Regions from separate parts of the Homo sapiens genome. Here region 1 is linked to region 2. The links are contacts of gene promoters, found by promoter capture Hi-C in blood cells and fetal thymus (Javierre and others, 2016). All regions are on one chromosome and are shown on one strand. Each heading gives the region's core, a stretch centred on a gene start or on the middle of the fragment in contact. The rest is flanking DNA. Distances are from core to core; before and after follow the strand shown.

The links. Contacts are between HindIII fragments. The CHiCAGO score rates a contact against its expected background, and 5 or more counts as called.
Region 1: a contact is called between a fragment that was not itself captured here and the fragment with the promoter of OR52J3 in region 2, in 1 of 17 cell types (erythroblasts). The highest score is 5.2, in erythroblasts.

The regions. Positions count from the first base shown.
Region 1 is chr11:4,624,290-4,631,455 of GRCh38, forward strand. No RefSeq gene overlaps it. Among named protein-coding and RNA genes, the nearest start is that of OR51D1, 9.6 kb to the right of the region's middle. The HindIII fragment of the contact is 2,104 bases long and covers 1,251-3,354 here.
Region 2 is chr11:5,043,530-5,050,396 of GRCh38, forward strand. It overlaps OR52J3 (olfactory receptor family 52 subfamily J member 3), which reads left to right and starts at 2,997. Exons shown (of 1, transcript NM_001001916.2): 1 at 2,997-3,932. The coding sequence starts at 2,997. The coding sequence ends at 3,932. The HindIII fragment of the contact is 8,727 bases long and covers 1-6,867 here.

The sequences.
Region 1 (7,166 bases), core at 1,053-3,552, 420 kb before region 2:
TTTTACTTCTTACAGATTAAACTATTTGCTTTTAATTCCTGTGGTTTCACGAGGAAAACAGGGTTTTTTTTTTTTTTTTTTTTCCCAAAACAGGGTCTGTGGTGCCTCGTAGTTCCATGCTACCAGAAGTTATCTTAGGGCGTCTTATGTGTGCATTAAGAGTGGCAAGCCAAAAAATGGAGAAAAATAATTCAGTTGACTGAGAAGAAAAAAAACTTTTTCCAGAAAGACAAGATCCAAGAAGAGAAAAACATAAAGGCCTTTTAAATATACCTATAACTTGAATATCCACTTTTAATTAAGCTGAGAGCTTTTTAAGAAAATCCTTTTAAATCTCTTGTTACTAGACTTTAGCCATGCGAAGCAATTAAGATTTTCAGCTTTTGAACGTTACAAAAAGTAATCTCACAGGTGAAACCAACAAGCCTTAATTAGGTTATGACTTAACCTCAAGTGTATATGGTGTTTTCAAAGGGGTGATAGGCAGCTTTTAAAACTATCATTGCAAAATTATTACTGAGACAGTGGAAGAGATCTGACCCAACCAACTCCATTTTGTTTCCAGCTCCCAAGCTATCCTTGCCTATCCCTGGGCATAGGCCAAACCAACTTTTGGAGGAGCTGGGTTTATAGTTTATAGTCTAAAACAAAGATGGTAACAGCCCCTTCTTAAGATAGGCTTACCTCTTGCCTGGGGAGCAGACCAAGAAACTAGCCATAAGATTAGAAACCATGGCCTAGGAGTCATGGAGCTGAGGCTACAAGATTCTGACCCTCCCTTAACTGCTCTCAAGATTAGTCCTTAATATATTTTGTAAACCCTGCTCTTGATGGATCAGCTGGCACCACCTAGATTGACAAACTGGCTTATCTGATTGTGTGGTCCTCACCCAGGAACTGACTTAGCACAAGAAGACAGCCACCATTGTAAAATGGTGGAGACTAAAACAAAGTATTGCCATGTGGTTCCAGGTCATGTTCCCAAGGACCTGAAACAAGATGGAGGCCTGTAGTCAAGTTTGTTACTGATTATGTTGTTGGGCTGGCTTGAACAGCAGGCTTATGGGGTCCTGGGCCTGCATTCTATTTTCGCTTTTCCTTTTAGGCCTGCTATAGAAGACATATTGCTTATCTCCAAATTTCTCTGCTGCCTACAGAATTGCCTGCTTCTCAGCTGTGGTTAGGGTTTGGCTTAGAAGCAGCATAACATCCCTCCATGAGAAGTCAAATACCTAAGTTAAATTTTGGAAAGCTTCTATATACCTATCAGGGTCGTTAGAAAATTGACCTAAGTCTCCCTTTATTTGTCTAAGATCTTGTAATGAGAAGGGAACTTGAAGGGGCCCCAAATAAAGGGGAGCCTCAGATAGTTCCCCTGGGAGTTGCTTCTCTAATTTTAGAGAATTATTTTCTTTTGGACCTGCCTGATATGATTGCTAAAAGAGCTGGGTTTATTTTGCAATGCTTGCAGAGGTCTAGTAAAAAGGTCATGCCCTTGTGCAAAAGAAAATGAGCCACATTTTTGTTAAAGTTTCTGGGTCACAGAAGTCCTTGTGCTTCAGAATGCACTCCAGAGGAACTAAGCAATTAGGGCTAGTCATGCTCACCCAGGTGGCTCTAGTCCTGGGTGACTTTTGACTTCCTAGACTTGTGTGAGCCGCCTGGCTCCCTGAAAAACGGATCTCAAGAAAAACTATGTAATAGTTGGGCAAGGCCCCTTTAATGGGCGGGGGGGGGGCATGCTAGATTAAACTCTGTATCTTGCTATTATGGCCGGTGCTGAAGCATTTACCTTTATAGAATGGTTTTGGCTAACTTCCAAACTTAAAATCCCCTTACTAGTTAGGTACCACTCTAATTGGAGGCAGAATAGGTGCCTTAAGAGAACATAGGGACTGAATGGCCATTTATCTGCTGATGGGACAGTATTGAGGCTAAAATTTGGCTACAGAGGACATTTTGCTCCTAATTGTTGAAGGCAGAGCTTTCCCATTCACAGTTGAAGCCTTTCTAGCAGTGCGAAAAGCCAGGATTGGGACACCGCAGTTTATGGCATAGGACTCACAATGTGCCTCATGAAGAGGATTTCTGTTTCCACTAGGTGGCGCTGTTGGCCTAGTAATACCTTGTACTCACCAGAGAAACGGTAAAGACGTTTATTGAGTTACTGCATGTTTGCCGATCTTTCCTAACAGAACTGTTCCCCTGAATTGTAAAAATTCCTGCACATTGCATATACGGAGAGCATAGTAGACATAATGACCATGGATAGAAAAGAAAGGAAAGTTTTGTGACAGGATAGCTGGAGATCCTTTACCAACACCTGGACGGACTGTCAGAGGCTGGGTTCAGTCCAGAAGCCTTTGAATAATGCCAGGGGTTCGTTGTCGCATGCCAAGAAAATTTAGGACACAGACACAGGTGGAATTTAGGAGCAGAGGTTTAATAGGTAGAAGAGAAGAGAAAGAGGAACAGCTTCCTCCATAGAGGAAGGGTTCTCCAAGCAGAAAAGACCATGCGGAAAGGATGGAGAAGAAAAAAACACCAGCTGGCAGGGAATGCACCGATTGTTTTAGTCTGGCATGAGGAGGTGGTGTCTGATTTATGTAGGGCTCACAGATTGGTTCAATTAGGTATGACATTTACATGGCACATGGGGAAGGCTGGTCACCTTACCCTAATCTTATGCAAATGGGCTTTTCAGTTATCAGCCCCATCTGGTCTGCTCCTTAGGATACACGCGGCTGGCAGAGAAGGGAAGATGGAGCCACCATTATGAAAATGTCTAGTCCTCAGTTTCTGCGGCATTCACCCATGCAAGCTCCCAGCTTGCAGGCTGCTCTTTGTTAGAAAATGATTTGGGGGTTCCCTTGCTATCTGCCTAAGTAATTCCTTCTTAACTCCTGTATCAGTACCTCAGGGGGTGTAAACTGTGGCTTTCGAAAATTTGCAGGGATTTGTATCTTCTATTTCTTTTGTGCTTTTAGGTAGGGAAAAAATCATTGGCTAAGTTGATCAAGGGGATCTGAGAATTAAGCCAAGAATAAATGTAAAAATGGGATGCTTAATTACTGAAGAACTGAGTACTCCATCTTCTAGCGACACTTACCTATAGTATTAAGTATTAGGCCCGGGAAGCAGCACACATTGACAAAAGTCGTAAAATCTTACTAAAAATAATGAAAAATTATAATAGAAAGCTCCAAATGAACAACACTCCATTTTGAAAAGTGCATTTGAAAATTAGAGCTGTCTAATTAGGCTCATCCAGGGATGCCTATTGATGTGCAGATGCTTCTAAAAAGATTTCATTGTTTTTATTGTTTTTAAGAAAAGTCTTTATAAAAGACAAAAAGCTTAAGCAACTAATTGATAAGAAAAATTAAGTCTTCTAACCTTTTAGTCTGGTTACTACCCTGCCCTGAAGGTGAAGAGAAAGCTGGATAAAGTGTTTGTAAAAGGTAGACCCTCAGGTAAAGTAGGCTTCCTGTTTTTTTTTCAGAGCTATGCATGAGTCTACACATAGCAAATGCTTTCTTTGCACTATTCCTTAATGGGCTTCACCCTAAATGCAGTAATTTTAGGTAAAAAACAGAAGCTAAGTTAAAATGACCACCTATGGAACAAAATCAGTCTTCAAAATATACCTTTTGGCATTTAGGTGGATATTTTGAAATGCTTTTGAAAAGAAATTTACATCTATAAAGGAACTGTCCATTTGTGAGGGTGTTTGCCTCTGTACACCAAAGAGAGGAAGGACTGAGCCACTAGAAATTCTTACCATTGTATTTCATTTACATAACAAGTCTTACTTTTGTTTAAGGTGCTTTTCCTGGCCATCTTGTCTTAAATGGGCTTTTACCTACATGCTTTTTCTTTGGCTTGAGGAAATGATGGTAGGATATTTAGGTCTGAAGTCTCAGCTCTGTACTTTTAAGATACAAATTTTCCACCTTGTTTCACCTAGGAGTCATCGTTTTAGAAGTGCAAATTTAGGACTGCCTAGCTAACAGTTGCGTAGGGCAATGAAACAAGCCATTGGAAGACTGATAGTCTGAATGGGGAAAATAAAAACTGTTTGGAAGTTGACAAATGAAACATCTTAATGAAAGCTATAAGATGTGCCTCTGTCTGTTTATATGATATTTCTATGTGATTTAAGATAACATACAGCAAATAAAGCTAGTTTTAAAATTATTGTTAAAATTCCTATTTAGGAATGTCTTCAGAATTGTCAGTATTAAAAATAATTGAGACAATTTTGCTTGGGTTTACTAGTCAGATATGCTTATGCTGATCCTCTCCCTTCTCACACCCCAAACCCTCCAACAGGCCTCAGTGTGTGTTGTTTCCCCCATATATCCATGTGTTCTCATCGTTTAGCTACCTTATAAGAGAGAACATGTGGTATTTGGTTTTCTGTTCCTGCATTAGTTTGCTAAGGATAATGGCCCCCAGTTCCATCCATGTCCCTGCAAAGGATATGATCTCGTTCCTTTTTATGGCTGCATCCTATTCCGTAGTGTCTATGTACCACATTTACTTTATCCAGCCCACTGTTGATGGACATTTAGTTTGATTCCTTGTCTTTGTTATTGTGAATAGTGCTGCAATGAACATATATGTGCATGTGTCTTTATAATAGAATGATTTATATTCCTTTGGGTATATACCCAGTAATGAGATTGCTGGGTCAAAAGGAATTTCTGCCTCTAGGTCTTTGAGGAATTGCCACACCATCTTCCAAAATAGTTGAACTAATTTACATTCCCACCAACAGCATAAAAGTGTTCCTTTTCTCCACAACCTCGCCAGCATCTGTTATTTTTTGATATTTTATTAATAGCCATTCTGACTGGTGTGAGATAGTATCTCATTGTGGTTTTGATTTGCATTTCTGTAATGATCAGTGATGTTGAGCTTTTTTTCATGTTTGTTGGCTACATGTATGTTTTCTTTTGAGAAATGTCTGTTCATGTCCTTTGCCCACTTTTTAATGGGGTTGTTTTTTCTTGTAAATTTGTTTAAGTTTCTTATGGATGCTCAATATTAGACCTTTGTCAGATGGATAGCTTGCAAAAGTTTTCTCCCATTCTGTAAGTTGTTTGTTTACTCTGTCGATTATTTGTTTTGCTGTGCAGAAGCTCTTTAGTTTAATTAGATCCCATTTGTTAATTTTTGCTTTTGTTGCAATTGCTTTTGGTATTTGTATGAAATAGTTGCCTGTTCCTATGTCACGAATGGTATTACCTTGGTTTTCTTCTGGGGTTTTTATAGTTTTGGGTTTCACATTTAAGTCTTTAATTCATCTTGAGTTGACTTTTGTATATGGTAATAACAAAGGGGTCCAGTTTCAATTTTCTGCATATGGCTAGCTAGTTGTCCCAGCACCATTTATTAAATAGGGAATCATTTCCCCATTGCTTGTTTTTGTCAGGTTTGTCAAAGATCTGATGGTTGTAGCTTTACAGTCTTATTTCTGGAATTTCTATTCTGTTCCATTGTCCTTTACAGACAATTAAATGCTGAGGGATTTTGTCACCACCTGGCCTGAAGGAAGGCTTCTGAAGGAAGCACTAAATACGGAAAGGAAAAACCAGTATCAGCCATTGCAAAAATATACCAAAATGTAAAGACCAATGACACTATGAAGAAACTGCATCAACTAATGTGCAAAATGAGCAGCTAGCATCATGACGACAGGACCGAATTCACACATAACAATATTAACCTTAAATGTAAGGGGCTAAATGCCCCAATTAAAAGACAGAGACTGGCAAATTGGATAAACCCATCAGTGTGCTGTATTCAGGAGACCCATCTCATGTGCAAAGACACACATAGGTTCAAAATAAAGGGATGGAGGAATATTTACCAAGCAAAGGGAAAGCAAAAAAAAAAAAGAAAAAAAAAAAGCAGGGGTTGCAATCTTAGTCTCTGATAAAACAGACTTTAAACCAACAAAGATCAAAAGAGACAAAGAAGGCCATTACATAATGGTAAAGTGATCAATGCAACAAGAAGAGCTAACTATCCTAAACATATATATGCACCCAATACAGGAGCACCCAGATTCATAAAGCAAGTTCTTAGAGACCTACAAAGAGACTTAGACTCCCACACAATAATAGTGGGAGACTTTAACACCCCACTGTCAATATTAGACAAATCAATGAGACAGAAAATTAACAAGGATATTCAGGACTTTAACTCAGCTCTGGACCAAGCGGACCTAATAGACATCTACAGAACTCTCCACCCCAAATCAACAGAATATACATTCTTCTTAGCACCACATAGCATTTATTCTAAAATCGACCACATAAGTGGAAGTAAAACACTCCTCAGCAAATGCAAAAGAATGGCTGGCTCAACATACACAAATCAATAAGTGTAATCCAGCACACAAACAGAACCAGTGACAAAAACAACATGATTATCTCAATAGATGCAGAAAAGGCCTTCTGTAAAATTCAACACCCCTTCATGCTAAAAACTCTCAATAAACTAGGTATTGATGGGTGGGACATATCTCAAAATAATAAGAGCTATTTATGACAAACCCATAGCCAATATCATATGGAATGGGCAAAAGTTAGAAGCATTCCCTTTGAAAACTGGCACAAGACAAGGATACCCTCTCTCACCACTCATATTCAACATAGTATTGGAAGTTCTGGCTGGGGCAATCAGGCAAGAAAAAGAAATAAAAGGTATTCAAATAGGAAGAGAAGAAGTCGAATTGTCTCTGTTTGCAGATGACATGATTGTATATTTAGAAAACCCCTTTGCCCATGCCTCCAGCTACAAAACAATTCCATTGCTGTTTTTGTTTTTGTTTTTGTTTTTTTGGTCCAAAATAAAACCTCAGCTAGCTCTGCCAAAAAAAAAAGAAAAAGAAAAAAAGAAAAAAGAAAAAAAAAAAAAACCCATTGTCTCAGCCCCAAAACTCCTTAAGCTGATAAGCAACTTCAGCAAAGTCTCAGAATACAAAATCAATGTGCAAAAATCACTAGCATTCCTATACACCAATAATAGACAAACAGAGAGCCAAATCATGAGTGAACTCCCATTCACAATTGCTACAAGGAGAATAAAATACCTAGGAATACAACTTACAAGGAACCTGAAGGACCTCTTCAAGGAGAGCTACAAACCACTGCTCA
Region 2 (6,867 bases), core at 1,747-4,246:
AGACATTCAAACTATAGCAAGCAGGAAACCAAAATATTCGTGTGACTCACTGTATTGTGACATTCACTTCATTGCAGTGGTATGGAACTGAAGCTGCAATCTCTCTGAGGTATGCCTGTATTTGAATTCGTAAACTTTCAGAAGTTTAAATTTAAAGTTTGTGTGATATAATCAAAAAGACTAAAGAGTAAGATGACAAATTTAACTTTATGTTTTTAAGTCTGTGCTTTACATCTTAAACTTGATTGTATCTTCAGTATTGTTTAAGATATCTTCTCCCGCATGAAGTAAAAAGATAGTAATTCTCCCATTTATTATAATGTTATTTTAGTGAGAATGAGAAATATATATATACATTTGACTGAAAAACGAGGGATAAAATGTTAGAATAAATGAGAACTTTCACACCAAATGTATAGACTTAGTGACATGAGAGTTTTCTCCATATGGTTTTCATAGATCAGATGTCTAAGAAGAAGGTGTTGTTATGAGCTGAGTTATGTGATAACAAAAACTAACATTTTAAAATCATTTAAAGCATTTTAAAAACATTTAAAATCATTTAAGCATGCTAAGTATTGTATTTAAGTGTATTATATTAACAACTTAAATTATTCCTCAAAAATATTATAAGCTATGGGTACTATTATCATTCTTAATTTTTCAATTGAGGAAACTGAGACAAAGAGATAATAAGAAAGTCATTCAAATTGACACAGATAGTATACATGAGAAATTCAGTGTTTGATCTGAAGCAAACTCATTTCATGAGTAGATATTTTTACTAATTATCTCTATGACCTCTGTGATATAAGTATGAAAAATTGGCAAGTGGGGGAATATAGAGAAACAATCATGGACAGAGGGCAGTGTGACCAAAGGCTCAAGGATCTTAATCCATAGACTAAACATTTAATAAACTCAGAACATATGGTGATTGAAATGAATACGAGAGCTAAGATTGAACGTGGAGTCTGCAATGCCAGGTTATTAGGCTTTAACTTAGGTAGTTAATATGGATCAAGGACTATTTTATCTAGAAAGCAACATCCCACAGAATTTGGTGGTAAAATTTCACTTAGAAATAAAATGTATCTATCTGTATGCCATATATTAAATAATAATATTTGGATGTTTTTGCTCCCACAACTGCATCTTTTTGTAGGAACATTTCTATACTCATCACTTTTCTTTGGGCTTCTATTCCCTAGATCAGAGTCAAAAATTTTGTTAACCATCTCAGAGGATTCAATCTCATGGTGCCAATTATAGTAGAAAACCCAGCTAACTCAATTTTCCTAATGTTCTAAGCAACTAAAGCCTTAATATAAAACGACTCTTCTTGGACTGTAAAAATGACAAGGCTATAGAGCCATGCTGCTTGATACTCCCCTTGAGCTTATATTTCTATGACATAATAAGGCAGGTGAATTTTCTCTTGACTTAGGTATGTATTACATTGAAATAAGTGAGAAATGATCAAGGGTTGCTGAGCTTGCTGGGCTTGATATTGATCAGGTAGTACAATTTCTGACTCTAATGGAATAAAAATCCTTTGAAACTCTTAAATGGAGATTGAAAATTTAAAAACGATCTAGAAGACCCATGGAATAGATGTATTTATTCAAAGCAATTATATAGTTTATTGGTAAAATATATGTTCTGCCTTTCCTATGGGTTATAAGGAATAAAATGGACTTCTGTAGAAATACAGCTTATTTCTTTCTCTCTCCTTTTCTCTCTCTTTCTTGCTCTCTATATCTCTACCCCCCTCCACACCTCAGAATGGGTATATTATTTATTTTATTTTTTATCTTGATGTATTTTCCACTTTGACATACTTGTCAGAAATATGGAGCTACATAAATGGTGAAACAGGAGTCTGTGCTACTTTCTTCTATCCTGAACCACTCTGCCACAAGTTGGAGACCCACAGAAGTTTGATTTCATTATTTCAGCTTATGAGTGGTTGCTTCTTCATAATTTCAAAAGCATTGAAAGAGCACCCTTATATATTTCCTTTAGAAAATTACAGAAAGTAATTTTATCTGCAAATAGACCTTTTTATTCCAGTTTTGTGTCATCAAAAACATCTTCTCCAAATACATAACCAAAGGAGTCTTCTAGGTTGTCTCTACCTACCTGAAAAGTGACTTAATCAGGCAGGAGGTATAAACCCAGTATATACTAGTTAGAGAACTAATATAGAGTGAAGAGTAAATGATGCTTTCAAATACCACTAGAAACTACCATCACTATAGAAATCCAAAATGAGCCACCGAAAAATTTGTTGCTCTTGAGAAAGTACTTTAATCAGTGAAAATCCTCAACAGGTTTATTATTTTCTTTCTGAGCTCTTTCATGTGTGGTGGTATGTGACCCAGCCTGTGTTTGCTCCTGGGGCAAGCATTCCAGGGTGTTTACGCTTTTGTTTGTTATATCTACATTTCTCATGTTATCTTTCTGTCTTTTTGATAGGATATTAGGCTTAATCTTGGCATGTGCCCTACATCAATAAATGATTAACAAATCATTAGAAGAACTTTTGCAGTTTTTAATTATAAAAATATGTGTACATCTGTGTCTGTAACTTCATGTCCTCATTAGTCTGTCTCCTCCTGAATTAATCGGCATTTCGCTTGTGTGTATCTTTGATTTTTCAGGCATTCCTCTTCAACCAAGGGACTAATAAAGGGTACAGGGCATCTTCAATTATTCCAGTTAAATATCAGACTCTATGTCATAGAATCCTTCAATTTTTAATGTGTAAGTTTACACATTATACTACAATCATTATGTAAACATAAGAATTAAGTTATTTGAGACTGATCTATTCAAATGACTGTAGATTACAAAACACAGTAACAGGACCCTCCAAATAACCTTTTCTTTTTGCTCTGCATATACTGAATGAAACACAAACTTCTTATTCAATCTTCTCTCCCCAGCTGCTGCTTCTACATGTGGCAAGTTCTCCTACACTGTGATTTGGAAAAATGTTTTATCACAACAAGAGCATATTTCACCCAGTCACATTTTTCCTCATTGGAATCCCAGGTCTGGAAGACTTCCACATGTGGATCTCCGGGCCTTTCTGCTCTGTTTACCTTGTGGCTTTGCTGGGCAATGCCACCATTCTGCTAGTCATCAAGGTAGAACAGACTCTCCGGGAGCCCATGTTCTACTTCCTGGCCATTCTTTCCACTATTGATTTGGCCCTTTCTACAACCTCTGTGCCTCGCATGCTGGGTATCTTCTGGTTTGATGCTCACGAGATTAACTATGGAGCTTGTGTGGCCCAGATGTTTCTGATCCATGCCTTCACTGGCATGGAGGCTGAGGTCTTACTGGCTATGGCTTTTGACCGTTATGTGGCCGTCTGTGCTCCACTACATTACGCAACCATCTTGACATCCCAAGTGTTGGTGGGCATTAGCATGTGCATTGTAATTCGTCCCGTTTTACTTACACTTCCCATGGTCTATCTTATCTACCGCCTACCCTTTTGTCAGGCTCACATAATAGCCCATTCCTACTGTGAGCACATGGGCATTGCAAAATTGTCCTGTGGAAACATTCGTATCAATGGTATCTATGGGCTTTTTGTAGTTTCTTTCTTTGTTCTGAACCTGGTGCTCATTGGCATCTCGTATGTTTACATTCTCCGTGCTGTCTTCCGCCTCCCATCACATGATGCTCAGCTAAAAGCCCTAAGCACGTGTGGCGCTCATGTTGGAGTCATCTGTGTTTTCTATATCCCTTCAGTCTTCTCTTTCCTTACTCATCGATTTGGACACCAAATACCAGGTTACATTCACATTCTTGTTGCCAATCTCTATTTGATTATCCCACCCTCTCTCAACCCCATCATTTATGGGGTGAGGACCAAACAGATTCGAGAACGAGTGCTCTATGTTTTTACTAAAAAATAAGACTCTTACCATGTTATTTTACTAAGGGCTTTGATCCTTCTATAAAGACCGATATGTTCTTGCCTTAAGGAATATCTCCTGATCCTTAACTTATTGCTGTCAACTTGCAATACAAGTTGGTTTGTTCCTGGATGCTGACTAATAATGGATTTTAAAACTGTCAGAAACATCATTGTAGTTGAAGTTCAAAGACTGACCAACTATCCTGGAAGGGATATCCTGGGAGAGAACTGTGGGGCCTTTGACTGCATGACCTTGTGAAGAATGCTTGTTAGCACAGGCTGCTGCTTTTCTGGGGAAAGAACATATTTTACTGAGTGTTTTTTGACTAGTGATGAGAGATATGTGGCACTGGAAATTTACCCTGTAAACTACTTTATTTATTCCTTTAATCTTTCTTTCCTTATTTTCTTCCTTTCTTTCTTTTTTCCTTTTATTCTTTTTCTCTTACTTCTGTTTATTCATGCATCATGCATTTTATGATTCCTTTAATTTATATTCATTCAATGTCTGGCCCTATGGAGCTTGCATTCTGTTGTCCTCTTACAAAGCAAATTTCACGGGTTCAAAACAATCTTTGCCAAATCTGTAGCTTCAAGTGGAATCATATGCCAAAGACATGACACTCAGTGCAATGATAGCCAAAACAAACACACAATTTCAAAACTATTTATCAGTAATACCAGCATAACTTATCACTGATTGCTTTTCGGAATTCATGACCATAACATAAGCACCAGTTAGGTATAGCATTTTTACGTCTGTGATATGTGGAGGTCTTTGCCTATCACTTTTTCCAGTATTCTCTCAATCTATATTTGACCCTAAAAGACTCTATTTCAAAATCCAAGACCTCTCTTTCCAACCTGTAATCTGTCATTTGTTCTCCCACAGACTTTAATATAGACTATGTCATATCTAGCTATGGATAGCCACATTTCACATGATGCTGAAGGTTTTCAATTTATTTAATAAGATTTCCAAAGACCAAGCAATTAATTACCTTTTGAATTATCAAACTTGTCACATTGTTTTTTACAATTATACTCATTTTGTCTTATGTAGGTTATTAAAAATATAAAGCAAAAATGTAACAAATAGCTTTGTTCCTGATACCAAAAATTAACAACTTTTTATATTGCGCTCATCTCAAAGAGGATGTTTAAATAACATGCACACAGCATGAAAGCTAATATCACCTTTAACACTGCCCCAGCAGATTTCTCTCCCAATTTCCAGAGGCAAAGGCTAGCATGTGTGTTTTCTGATTTCACATTGCAAATTTTTAGATTTACAACCAATCACAGTATTTTTGTTAATCATTTGTTATTTGTTTATATAGATTAATGTACTCCATGTTTTGTTTTGTAACATTGATTTCATTTATATTTTTATTTTCTAATAGATAATTCATCTTATTATTTTTAATTACAAAACATGCTGCACATCTTTGTATTTATTTGTTTCTACATTTTAAGTTAATTTATCCAGGTTTTATTCTTTAAAGTAGAATTCTTAGGTAGCAGGTTTACAACCCATCAGAACATATTTCTGCTTTCTTGATATTTGTTTTTTAATCACTTTCTGATTTTACATTTCCTGTTGCTTTCCTTTTTTTTCACTTTCATGATTCTTGTTATTTTAGTTCCCTTTATGAATAAAAAATTTCCTCCACTGATATTTAAAAATTGCATATCCGTTATCTGTTTTTCTATTGGGTATTATTAAAAAATTAACCTCACCAATTTCATCTTTCTTTTTTTCTAATAAAAACTAATTTGTAACTACCCTACTCTGAAGAAACAAACATATTAATCCTCTTTTAACTTTTGCTATTTTTCTTCTACATCTATCTCGCTCATGTTGCTGCCATCTGGAATCTTACTTGCAGGTTTAAAAATAGAAATAAAAACACTAAAATATATATATATGTTTTTTTTCAAATTTTATTTTATTTTAGCTTCAGATGGAACATGTGCAGGTTTGTTGCATAAGTATAGTGAATATTGCTGAGGTTTAGGCTTTTAATTATCTTGTCACCCATGTAGTGAACATAATAGCTGATAGGTAGTTTTTCAACACTTGCCTCCGTCTCTTCCTCCCCTCTTTTGGAGTTTCCAATGTTTATTGTTCCCATCTTTCTGTCCATGTGACCCAGTGCTTAGCTTTCACTTATGAATCAGAACATGCAATATTTGCTTTTGTGTTTCTTCATTAATTCGATTAGGATAATGGCCTCCAGCTGCATCCATGTTGCCGCAAAGGACATAATTTTGTACGTTTTATGCTGTGTACTATTCCATTGTGTATATGTATGCATCACATTTCATTTATCTCATCTGCTGTTGATGAACCCCTGGGTTGATTCTGTATCTTTGCTGTTGTGAATAGTGCTGCAATAAACATACAAGTGCAGGTGTCTTTTTGGTGAACAATTTATTTTCCTTTGAGTATAAGGACACATCTAATATTCCCCACCCCAGCCATGATGCCAGACACAACAGCCCCCACATTTTAGCCAATTACCTCCTGTTCTGGTAATAACTGATTATAATTTTATGTCTAAATGTGTCTTCACTTACTTTTATAATTTAATAACAGGACAAAGGTTTATAGAACTTTGGAACAAAGTTTTATTCTATCCACTTTCTAAATTAATTGTTCAACTTTTTTTTTCTAGCAAGTAGTTCTGTAATGAAAAAATATAATTCCAAACATTTTTCATGCTTTTGAAATATTTTTTCTCTGTTCTTTGGAAAACATTTTGATGTTATAATATTTCATTTTATTGAGTGTAGCTTTGTAATTTTTTTAATAAATAATGTTTGGTATTCTGTAGGTCCTTATATTCTGAAACTCTATCTTCCATGATGTGATTATCACACATTGAATGCCTGTATCAAAACATCTCATGTACCCCATAAACATATACACC